Regions from separate parts of the Homo sapiens genome. Here regions 1 and 3 are each linked to region 2. The links are contacts of gene promoters, found by promoter capture Hi-C in human tissues and cell types (Jung and others, 2019). All regions are on one chromosome and are shown on one strand. Each heading gives the region's core, a stretch centred on a gene start or on the middle of the fragment in contact. The rest is flanking DNA. Distances are from core to core; before and after follow the strand shown.

Evidence for each region. Contacts are between HindIII fragments. The study calls those that stand out against the background at their distance.
Region 1: a fragment that was not itself captured here is called in contact with the fragment with the promoter of DCSTAMP in region 2 in 1 of the 25 tissues and cell types used here (dorsolateral prefrontal cortex).
Region 3: a contact is called between a fragment that was not itself captured here and the fragment with the promoter of DCSTAMP in region 2, in 1 of the 25 tissues and cell types used here (H1 embryonic stem cells).

Annotation. Positions count from the first base shown.
Region 1 is chr8:103,791,932-103,795,102 of GRCh38, reverse strand. All of the region lies in intron 6 of RIMS2 (regulating synaptic membrane exocytosis 2), which reads right to left. Among named protein-coding and RNA genes, the nearest start is that of RIMS2, 290 kb to the right of the region's middle. The HindIII fragment of the contact is 7,799 bases long and covers 1-3,171 here.
Region 2 is chr8:104,338,515-104,341,559 of GRCh38, reverse strand. DCSTAMP (dendrocyte expressed seven transmembrane protein) reads right to left here and starts at 1,734. Exons shown (of 4, transcript NM_030788.4): 1 at 1,698-1,734. The HindIII fragment of the contact is 10,500 bases long and covers 1-3,045 here.
Region 3 is chr8:103,757,503-103,760,554 of GRCh38, reverse strand. All of the region lies in intron 5 of RIMS2 (regulating synaptic membrane exocytosis 2), which reads right to left. Among named protein-coding and RNA genes, the nearest start is that of RIMS2, 260 kb to the right of the region's middle. The HindIII fragment of the contact is 6,148 bases long and covers 1-3,052 here.

The sequences.
Region 1 (3,171 bases), core at 166-2,665, 550 kb after region 2:
AATCCTTTGGGTATATACCCAGTAATGGGATGGCTCGGTCAAATGGTATTTCTAGTTCTAGATCCCTGAGGAATTGCCACACTGACTTCCACAATGGTTGAACTAGTTTACAGTCCCACCAACAGTGTAAAAGTGTTCCTATTTCTCCACATCCTCTCCATCACCCGTTGTTTCCTGACTTTTTAATGATCGCCATTCTAACTGGTGTGAGATGGTATTTCATTGTGATTTCGATTTGCATTTCTCTGATGGCCAGTGATGATGAGCATTTTCTCATGTGTCTGTTGGCTGCATAAATGTCTTCTTTTGAGGAGTGTCTGTTCATATCCTTTGCCCACTTTTTGATGGGGTTGTTTGATTTTTTTCTTGTAAATTTGTTTAAGTACTTTGTAGATTCTGGATATTAGCCCTTTGTCAGAAGGGTAGATTATAAAAATTTTCTCCCATTCTGTAGGTTGCCTCTTCACTCTGATGGTGGTTTCTTTTGCTGTGCAGAAGCTCTTTAGTTTAATTAGATCCCATTAGTCTATTCTGGCTTTTGTTGCCATTGCCATTGGTGTTTTAGTCATGAAGTCCTTGCCCATGCCTATGTCCTGAATGGTATTGCCTAGGTTTTCTTCTAGGATTTCTATGGTTTTAGGTCTAACATTTAAGTCTTTAATCCATCATAAATTAATTTTTGTATAAGTTGTAAGGAAGGGATCCAGTTTCAGCTTTCTATACGTGGCTAGCCAGTTTTCCCAGCACCATTGATTAAATAGGGAATTCTTTCCCCATTTCTTGTTTTTGTTCCGTTTGTCAAAGATCAGATGGTTTTAGATGTGTGGTATTCTTTCTGAGGGCTCTGTTCTGTTCCATTGGTCTATATCTCTGTGTTAGTGCCAGTATCATGCTGTTTTGATTACTATAGCCTTGTAGTATAGTTTGAAGTCAGGTAGTGTGATGCTGCCAGCTTTGTTCTTTTGGCTTAGGATGGTCATGGCAATGTGGGCTCTTTTTTGGTTCCATATGAAGTTTAACATAGTTTTTTTCAATTCTGTAAAGAAAGTCATTGGTAGCTTGAAGGGGATGGCATTGAATCTATAAATTACCTTGGGCAGTATGGCCATTTTCACGATATTGATTCTTCCTATCCATGAGCATGGAATGTTCTTTCATTTGTTTATGTCCTCTTTTATTTCGTTGAGCAGTGGTTTGTAGTTCTCCTTGAAGAGGTCCTTCACATCCCTTGTAAGTTGGATTCCTAGGTATTTTATTCTCTTTGTAGTAATTATGAATGGGAGTTCACTCATGATTTGGCTCTCTGTTTGTCTGTTATTGGTGTATAGGAATGCTTGTGATTTTTGCACATTGATTTTGTACCCTGAGACTTTGCTGAAGTTGCTTATCAGCTTAAGGAGATTTTGGGCTGAGACAATGGGGTTTTTCTATGTATACAATCATGTCATCTGCAAACAGGGACAATTTGACTTCCTATTTTCCTAATTGAATACCCTTTATTTCTTTCTCCTGCCTGATTGCCCTGGCCAGAACATCCAACACTATGTTGAATAGGAGTGGTGAGAGAGGGCATCCCTGTCTTGTGCCAGTTTTCAAAGGGAATGCTTCCAGTTTTTGCCCATTCAGTATGATATTGGCTCTGGGTTTGTCAGAAACAGCTCTTATTATTTTGAGATATGTCTCATCTATACCTAGTTTATTGAGAGTTTTTAGCATGAAGGGCTGTTGAATTTTCTCGAAGGCCTTTTCTGCATCTATTGAGATAATCATGTGGTTTTTGTCTTGGTTCTGTTTATATGAGGGGTTACGTTTACTGATTTGCGTATGTTGAACCAGCCTTCCATCCCAGGGATGAAGCCCACTTGATCGTAGTGGATAAGCTTTTAGATGTGCTGCTGGATTCAGTTTACCAGTATTTATTGAGAATTTTTGCATCGATGTTCATCAGGGATATTGGTCTAAAATTCTCTTTTTTTATTGTGTCTCTGCCTGGCTTTGGTATCAGAATGATGCTGGCTTCATACAATGAGTTAGGGAGGATTCCCTCTTTTTCTATTGATTGGAATAGTTTCAGAAGGAATGGTACCAGTTCATCTTTGTACCTCTGGTAGAATTCGGCTGTGAATCCATCTGGTCCTGGACTTTTTTTGGTTGGTAGGCTATTAATTATTGCCTCAATTTCAGAGCCTGTTATTGGTCTATTCAGGGATTCAACTTCTTCCTGGTTTAGTCTTCGGAAGGTGTATGTGTCCAGGAATTTATCCATTTCTTTCGGATTTTCTAGTTTATTTGCATAGAGGTCTTTATAGTATTCTCTGATGGTAGTTTGTATTTCCTTGGGTTTGGTGGTGACATCCACTTTCTCATTTTTTATTGCGTCTATTTGATTCTTCTCTCTTTTCTTCTTTATTAGTCTTGCTAGCGATCTATCAATTTTGTTGATCTTTAAAAAAAAAAAAAAAAAACCAGCTCCTGGATTCACTGATTTTTTGAAGGGTTTTTTGTGTCTCTACCTCCTTCAGTTCTGCTCTGATCTTAGTTATTTCTTGCCTTCTGCTAGCTTTTGAGTGTGTTTGCTCTTGTTTCTCTAGTTCTTTTAGTTGTGATGTTAGGGTGTCAATTTTAGATCTTTCCTGCTTTCTCTTGTGGGCATTTAGTGCTATAAATTTCCCTCTACACACTCTTTTAAGTGTGTCCCAGAGATTCTGGTACATTGTTTCTTTGTTCTTATTGGTTTCAAAGAACATGTTTATTTCTGCCTTCATTTCGTTATGCATCCAGTAGTCATTCAGGAGCAGGTTGTTCAGTTTCCATGTAGGTGAGAGGTTTTGAGTGAGTTTCTTAATCCTGAGTCCTAATTTGATTGCACTGTGGTCTGAGAGACAGTTTGTTATAATTTCTGTTGTTTTACATTTGCTGAGGAGTGCTTTACTTCCAACGATGTGGTCAGTTTTAGAATAAGTGCGATGTGGTGCTGAGAAGAATGTATATTCTGTTGATTTGGGGTGGAGACTTCTGTAGATGTCTATTAAGTCCGCTTGGTGCAGAGCTGAGTTCAATTCCTGGATATCCTTGTTAACTTCCTGTCTCGTTGATCTGTCTCTTGTTGACAGTGGGGTGTTAAAGTGTCCCATTATTATTGTGTGGGAGTCTAAGTCTCTTTGTAGGTCT
Region 2 (3,045 bases), core at 485-2,984:
ATGCTAGCTAGCAGACACCTCTGCAAGGTACATACACCTCAATCGTTTTCCCTGCATGGGATCTCAGTGTCAGTGGGAGCATTGAGAGCCCCAGCATGGAGGGCACAGGGCTCACAGCCCCCACCCACAGAGCTCTGTTTGGCCACCTTTTTGATGAGTGAAGGAGACCGGCATTCCTGAGCACTGTCTTTTGAGCACAGATCAACTTTCAAGGTGCAGATGAATGTGTCCTTGCTTCAGATACAAGGTCCAGTCAGAAGCTACAAAAAATGGAGCCATGAAATAATAATGAGAATCTCCACATGAATGGCCCACCCTAGGAGCTTTCTAGACTGGAGGGGTATTGAAGCTGCACATCACCCATGTGTCTCCAGAGCTGGTAAGCAGAAACCCACAGGCTTACTGCTATTGAAAGTGTGGGAGGAAGAAATGTGACCTTCTCTGGAGGAAAGGCCAGGAGACAATGACCTTGGGAGCATCTTATTGCTCCCCTCTCTCCCCATTTCCAAAGCTCCTGCCTCATCTGATGTCCTGCAATTCCCATTAAGTGACACCAGTTCATTCTGACTCTGCCTGTGCAGAAGCCAATGGCTTATGCTCAACAAGCCCAGATATAGTCTGCAGACACCCCAGGGGACAATAAACCCAAACGGACAAGCACTCTGTTCTTTCTGTACTCCTCAACCAGCCCTGCCGGTCCCCTGCGGGAACCCAGTCTGAACCCATCAGCCTCCCTCACTGGCTTGATGTGAATCTCATTTTAAAAGGAATTTGATCAAAGGACAGAGCAGAACAGGAAAAGAGCGCCAAACGGAGACCTGTGGTCCAACCTGCCTCTACCCAAGCCAGGTTGCGTGGCCTTGGATAGGTCATGTCACCTCCTGGACCTCAGCTCCTATGGGCTAGCTGAGTTCTAAGGTCCCCACTAGCCCCATGCTCTCTGAAATGAAAGGTGCAGTGAGCAGCGGAGCTGGTTCTTGGAGCTGGCGTTCTGCAGTCACTTCTGAGACAGAACATCAAAGCCCAGCACCTGGGAGTGGAACAAAAGAAGAATGGAGGGTTTCTTTTCCTTTTCCTTTTTTCTCCCTTTCTTTTTTGTATAAGCTCTTGCAAACTTACAATGTGGTTCAGAATGTACTGTTCTCTCAGACTGCCAAAATAGCTTGAGCAGGAGCTGCGGCCTTCATTTGAGGTAGAGAGAACTCCTCATGACTTTGTTTTCATTGTTCTTGCCTTGGGAAAGCCAGCAAATGCCTTCCTCTGTGAAAGCAGCCTTCACACAAGAAAGGAAAGATTAATGAACGCTACTAGGTAAACAGAATAGCATTTACGGAACAATTCAGCCCATTGCTGCGTGTGCCAGGTGCCGGGAGCTGCATCGTTGGCCAGGCAGGACTGAGCCAGCCTAGGGCTCCCCATAACCACCAGGAGGATTAGCTGAGGGGATTCATAAAGTGAAGGGTGGCTCGCGTATACCCAGGCTACACCCATAAGAAGATATTCATGCTGCAGTTTTCCCTGAGCAGAGGATATTCAGATACCAACATGAAAAGACTTTCTGATACTTCCATACATAGGGAGACTGTCGGGGTATAGGGGGCCTTAAAGTATGCTCTGGTCACAATTGTTTATTCCAATTTACTAGTACTTTTTTAAAAGCAATTTTAGAAATAAGATTATTCTGAAAGTTTACTTACAGGTTTCTCTCAGATTCTTCTTCGAATGCAGAAATGCACTTCCCAAGGGCTGTAGGTCTTGATATATAGCAGGAAAAAGGGAACCAGAAGTGTCGAGAGGGTCACATCACCATGAATCAACCTCTTTATTTCCCCCATAAAGTGACTGAGCCATTTAATATCAACAAAGAGTAATGCTGATACAAATGAATAGCATATTTCTTTCTAGCATTTTCCTCAGAATAGATGTTCTAGAAATTAATTATAGAAAATAATGAAATCAGATATTTTCAAACACAAGAGAGTGAGTTGTGAAAGCTTGGACGGCCTCTCTCCCTCTTTTCTCTTTTGCCCTCACTCCCATACTCCCCACATCCACTCGAGCCATTGGGAAATGACAAGCATCCGCCATACCCACCTCTCATCCACACTTGAAGAGGCAGATGGTTCGTAGGAGCCGCCTCTGCACTCATGACCCCAGACAGGTCGAATAATTGGTTTCATGCCTCCCACTCATACATGTGACTTTCCATCTTAGAAATTTAGCTTCCAAGTCAAAAGGACCAGCTTGTGTAGTTTCGGAGAGTTAGGAAAGTCTCAAAATCTTTCTACAAAATTATTCTTTACTTTTTGTTGGAGACCCCTATTATACCTGCAAAAACCTTTATCTTAAAAAAAAAAAAAGGATCAGAATAGACCCTTGGGCTCAGGCTGGGCACACAGACTGCATGTCCCTCATGAGTCCTTTGTGTAAGGGGCTGACTTAGTCCTGAAGATGAAGAGAGCTGTTGAAATGAGATGTTTTCATTTGAACAGGAAGGATGGGACTGCAATGTGGGTGTCTGATTGAGTCATCCAGAAGCAGCCATGGTGGCCCCAAGGGAGGGAAGGGTCAGGGAGTGGGCAGGATCTTGAGGAAACGGCCCCAGACTTTGGTGAGTGGGAAGTCACTGGTGTTTCTGGAAGAGCCATTTAGGCAGGGGCCTAGGGGTGGGCACCACTCTTCAGTGGGCTGGAGCGTGAACTGGAGTGGGAGGAGGGGAGGAGCAAGCCAACCGGCTGGACTGGATGGGGTTCCTTTGTAGTAGTGCTAGGGATGGAAATGGAGAGGGAGAAGGCAGCAGTAGAGAGGTAGTGGTTTGAGTTTGGGGAAAACTAGATGAAATTTAGCATATCAGCCTCACAAAGAAGAATAAAGATAAGAGAGAGATGTTGGTACTCCCTGAGGAGGGAGGGAGGAAAGCTGAGGGCAGTTGCAACTTTCTTGGGGAAGGAGGAGATGGAGCCTTCTGAGAACGGGGGATGGAGACAGAAGTTGCTGGATCATGGAGAACAAACCTGGGGGCAGCTGCAGAAGAAAGAACTGGGA
Region 3 (3,052 bases), core at 72-2,571, 580 kb after region 2:
TGTCTCTAAAAAGGCAGAATTCAAGGGTAGCTTGCGCTACTAAACTACAAGCCCTCACCCAGCACTGCCATGGTGGATTTTGAAAGTAGACACATTGGCTCATATCCCAGAAGGTTAACATTTTCTAATAGGATTCCTTAGGCAATTAAGAGATACTGTCATCTGTAAATACTAAGATTCTGGATTACAAAACAAAAATCAGAAATTTTCTTCATCTGATGCCCCTGATACAAGCAGCAGAACTTCCAGATTTACCATGAATTGTAATCACAGCATTTCTAGCAATAGTCACACTTACAGGCTGAAGCAGGAATGTCTGATGGGTCTTCATTAAATCTCTTGGGAGGCAACAGCACATCCTCCTGAGAGCTTTAACCTTAAGCATTTCCCAGTCTTAGCTGTTACAAATCCTTCTATGTTGGCTATCGCTGTGGCTTTGAAAAATTTACTCACAAAGAAAGGTAGCGTATTTATTTCTCTATTTTTGATCTGATTTTTGTCAACAGCACACTTGCCAGATTCTTCTTTAAAGCTACTCAGTAAATTGTAGTCCAATAAATAATAGCTCCTTTGGACAAGTTCTCTATTTCTGATATTTCTGCTCCTTTTTTGGCTGTTCTCCAAGAAAGTATTCAGGTGTTCTGTGAGGCTTATGCTGCTACACAACCTGCAGCTCATCCAATCGATAGTCTGATTCTTCTCAACTTAGACAGACTTGCACTTCTCAATAAACCTGATCTCACTTCGGTTCCCACCAGCACTGCCAAACACTTAGTCCCTGAATGACCCTCTATTCCACTATGGCAAAAGCTGTCTATTCTGCAGCTTCTTCTGCAAAGTCATCTCATCCCTCACTATAGATAGGTGTCATGTCTGGGACATGTAGTTATGCTCATGCCACACTAGAACAAAGGACAGTTCTGGAAGTCAAGTCTGGCCTTTTCTTGGCCTTTCTTTTTTCTTTTCTTTTTTTTTTTTTTTTTTTTTTTTGAGACGGAGTCTCGCTCTGTCGCCCAGGCTGGAGTGCAGTGGCACAATCTCTGCTCACTGCAAGCTCCGCCTCCCAGGTTCACGCCATTCTCCTGCCTCAGCCTCCCGAGTAGCTGGGACTACAGGCGCCCACCGCCACGCCCAGCTAATTTTTTGTATTTTTAGTAGAGAAAGGGTTTCACCGTGTTAGCCAGGATGGTCTCGATCTCCTGACCTCGTGATCCGCCTGCCTCGGCCTCCCAAAGTGCTGGGATTACAGGCGTGAGCCACCACACCTGTCCTTCTTGGCCTTTCTTAATCATGATCCGCTGCCAAGTTCATTCTGAAGTATCTATGCCCCTGATGGATGCTAGGGCATCCCGAAGGGTGATTCCCTTCCATGGATCTCAAATAATAATAAGAGTAAAAGATGCCCTTCAATTTAACAAAAATGCATCCTCGTCCTGAGTCAAAGCCTGGAAAGAAGAGACTGGAACATACCTCTAATCATCTACTGGCCTCACCTGTCTTCTTTCTCCTCCCCTACAATGTAGAAGAATAGAAGAAACAAGCTTTTCCTTGACTGTTCTTTTCTGTATACCTAACACTTTCCCCAAATACCCTCAGCTTGAAGTAATGAGCTTCAGTCTTCCCATTTCATCGATTTCATCCAATTAAAATTATAGTGAGTTTTACCACTTTGCCTAAATTTAAACTTTTAACCCTCTCTATTACTTTTCCCAAACTCTATTTTTCTCTACTTATTTGTAATTTGTAAGTAAGTTGTTTTATGCCATGATATAAATCTAAACTTTTAACCTTTCTTCTGCTAAAAGCAGACATGTCTTTCAATAGAAAGACTGTTGTTTCTACACCCAGAATTTTAACTTATAAATGAATAAATAAAAGTAAAAAAGAAATGAAAGGAAATTAGCAGAGCTAAAGCCTCAGGTCTACTATGTCCCCAGCCAAACAGCAGGTACCAGTGAATAAGAGCACAGGTCTTATGGTTTAACAGAACTAGAAGTGCTGCATGTGAAATGACAAACTGAAATTCATGTTCACGTCTTCATTAATAAAAAAAAGCTGAAAAAAATGCTGTGGAAATCTTCTCAACCTACAGCTTCCTAGAAGCTGTAGGCTTGGGCAAGTGGGACACACTTGTAACTTTGACACTGAACAAAGCCTCCACAGACTTGGTTTGTATATATGAATTTATAAGATCACTAATGTAAAATATCACTAATATATTAATTTGCAATATCACTCAATACCAAGATTGAGGCAAGACCACAGCTCATTAATGAATATCTGGTTCTGAACTGGAGATCCCAGAGACTGCATGAAGGCAATCATGAAATTATTAATAAGGAAGAAGTAAGTTCAGAGGAAAGAGGAAGGAAGAAAGAGAAGAAGAGAAAGACAGGAGGTCCTAGATAGCTATCTAAAGTCTATCTAACTCTAGATAGCTATCTAAAACTTATTCAAAAATATTACAGAAGGGGGAAAAATGGAAACTTCCATGACTCAAATTACAAATTACCCCAAACTGGTGGCTTAAAACAACAAGAAATGTATTCCCTCACAGCTCTGGGACAAGAAGTCCAATTTCAATATCACCTGACCAAAATCAAGATGTCAACAGGGCCATGATCCTTCAGAAGGCTCTAGGGAAAACCAGTTCCTTGTCTCCTCTGGCAATCAGCTTCTGGTGAGTATCATCATTCCTTGGCTTGTGGCCACATCAATCCAATATTCAAAAACAGCATCTTCGAACTCTCTCTGTTAAATCTTCACATCGCCTTCTCTTCTGTGTTTGTGCACAGATACATATGCACTGATGATACAAGGGATTGCATTTAGGGCCAACCTGCATAATCTCCCTATCTCAAGATCTTTACTGTATCACACCTGCATGTTGTTTGAGGAAAGAGAAGAGTTGGGGGCCATATAAGATAACATTCATAGGTTTCAGGAATTAAGACATGGTTATCTTTAGAGGGGCCATTTTTCTGCCTACCATAGACAAAATTAAAGTAAAATTATAGCCCAATAGCACAAGTGGAAATGAATGCATACGTTT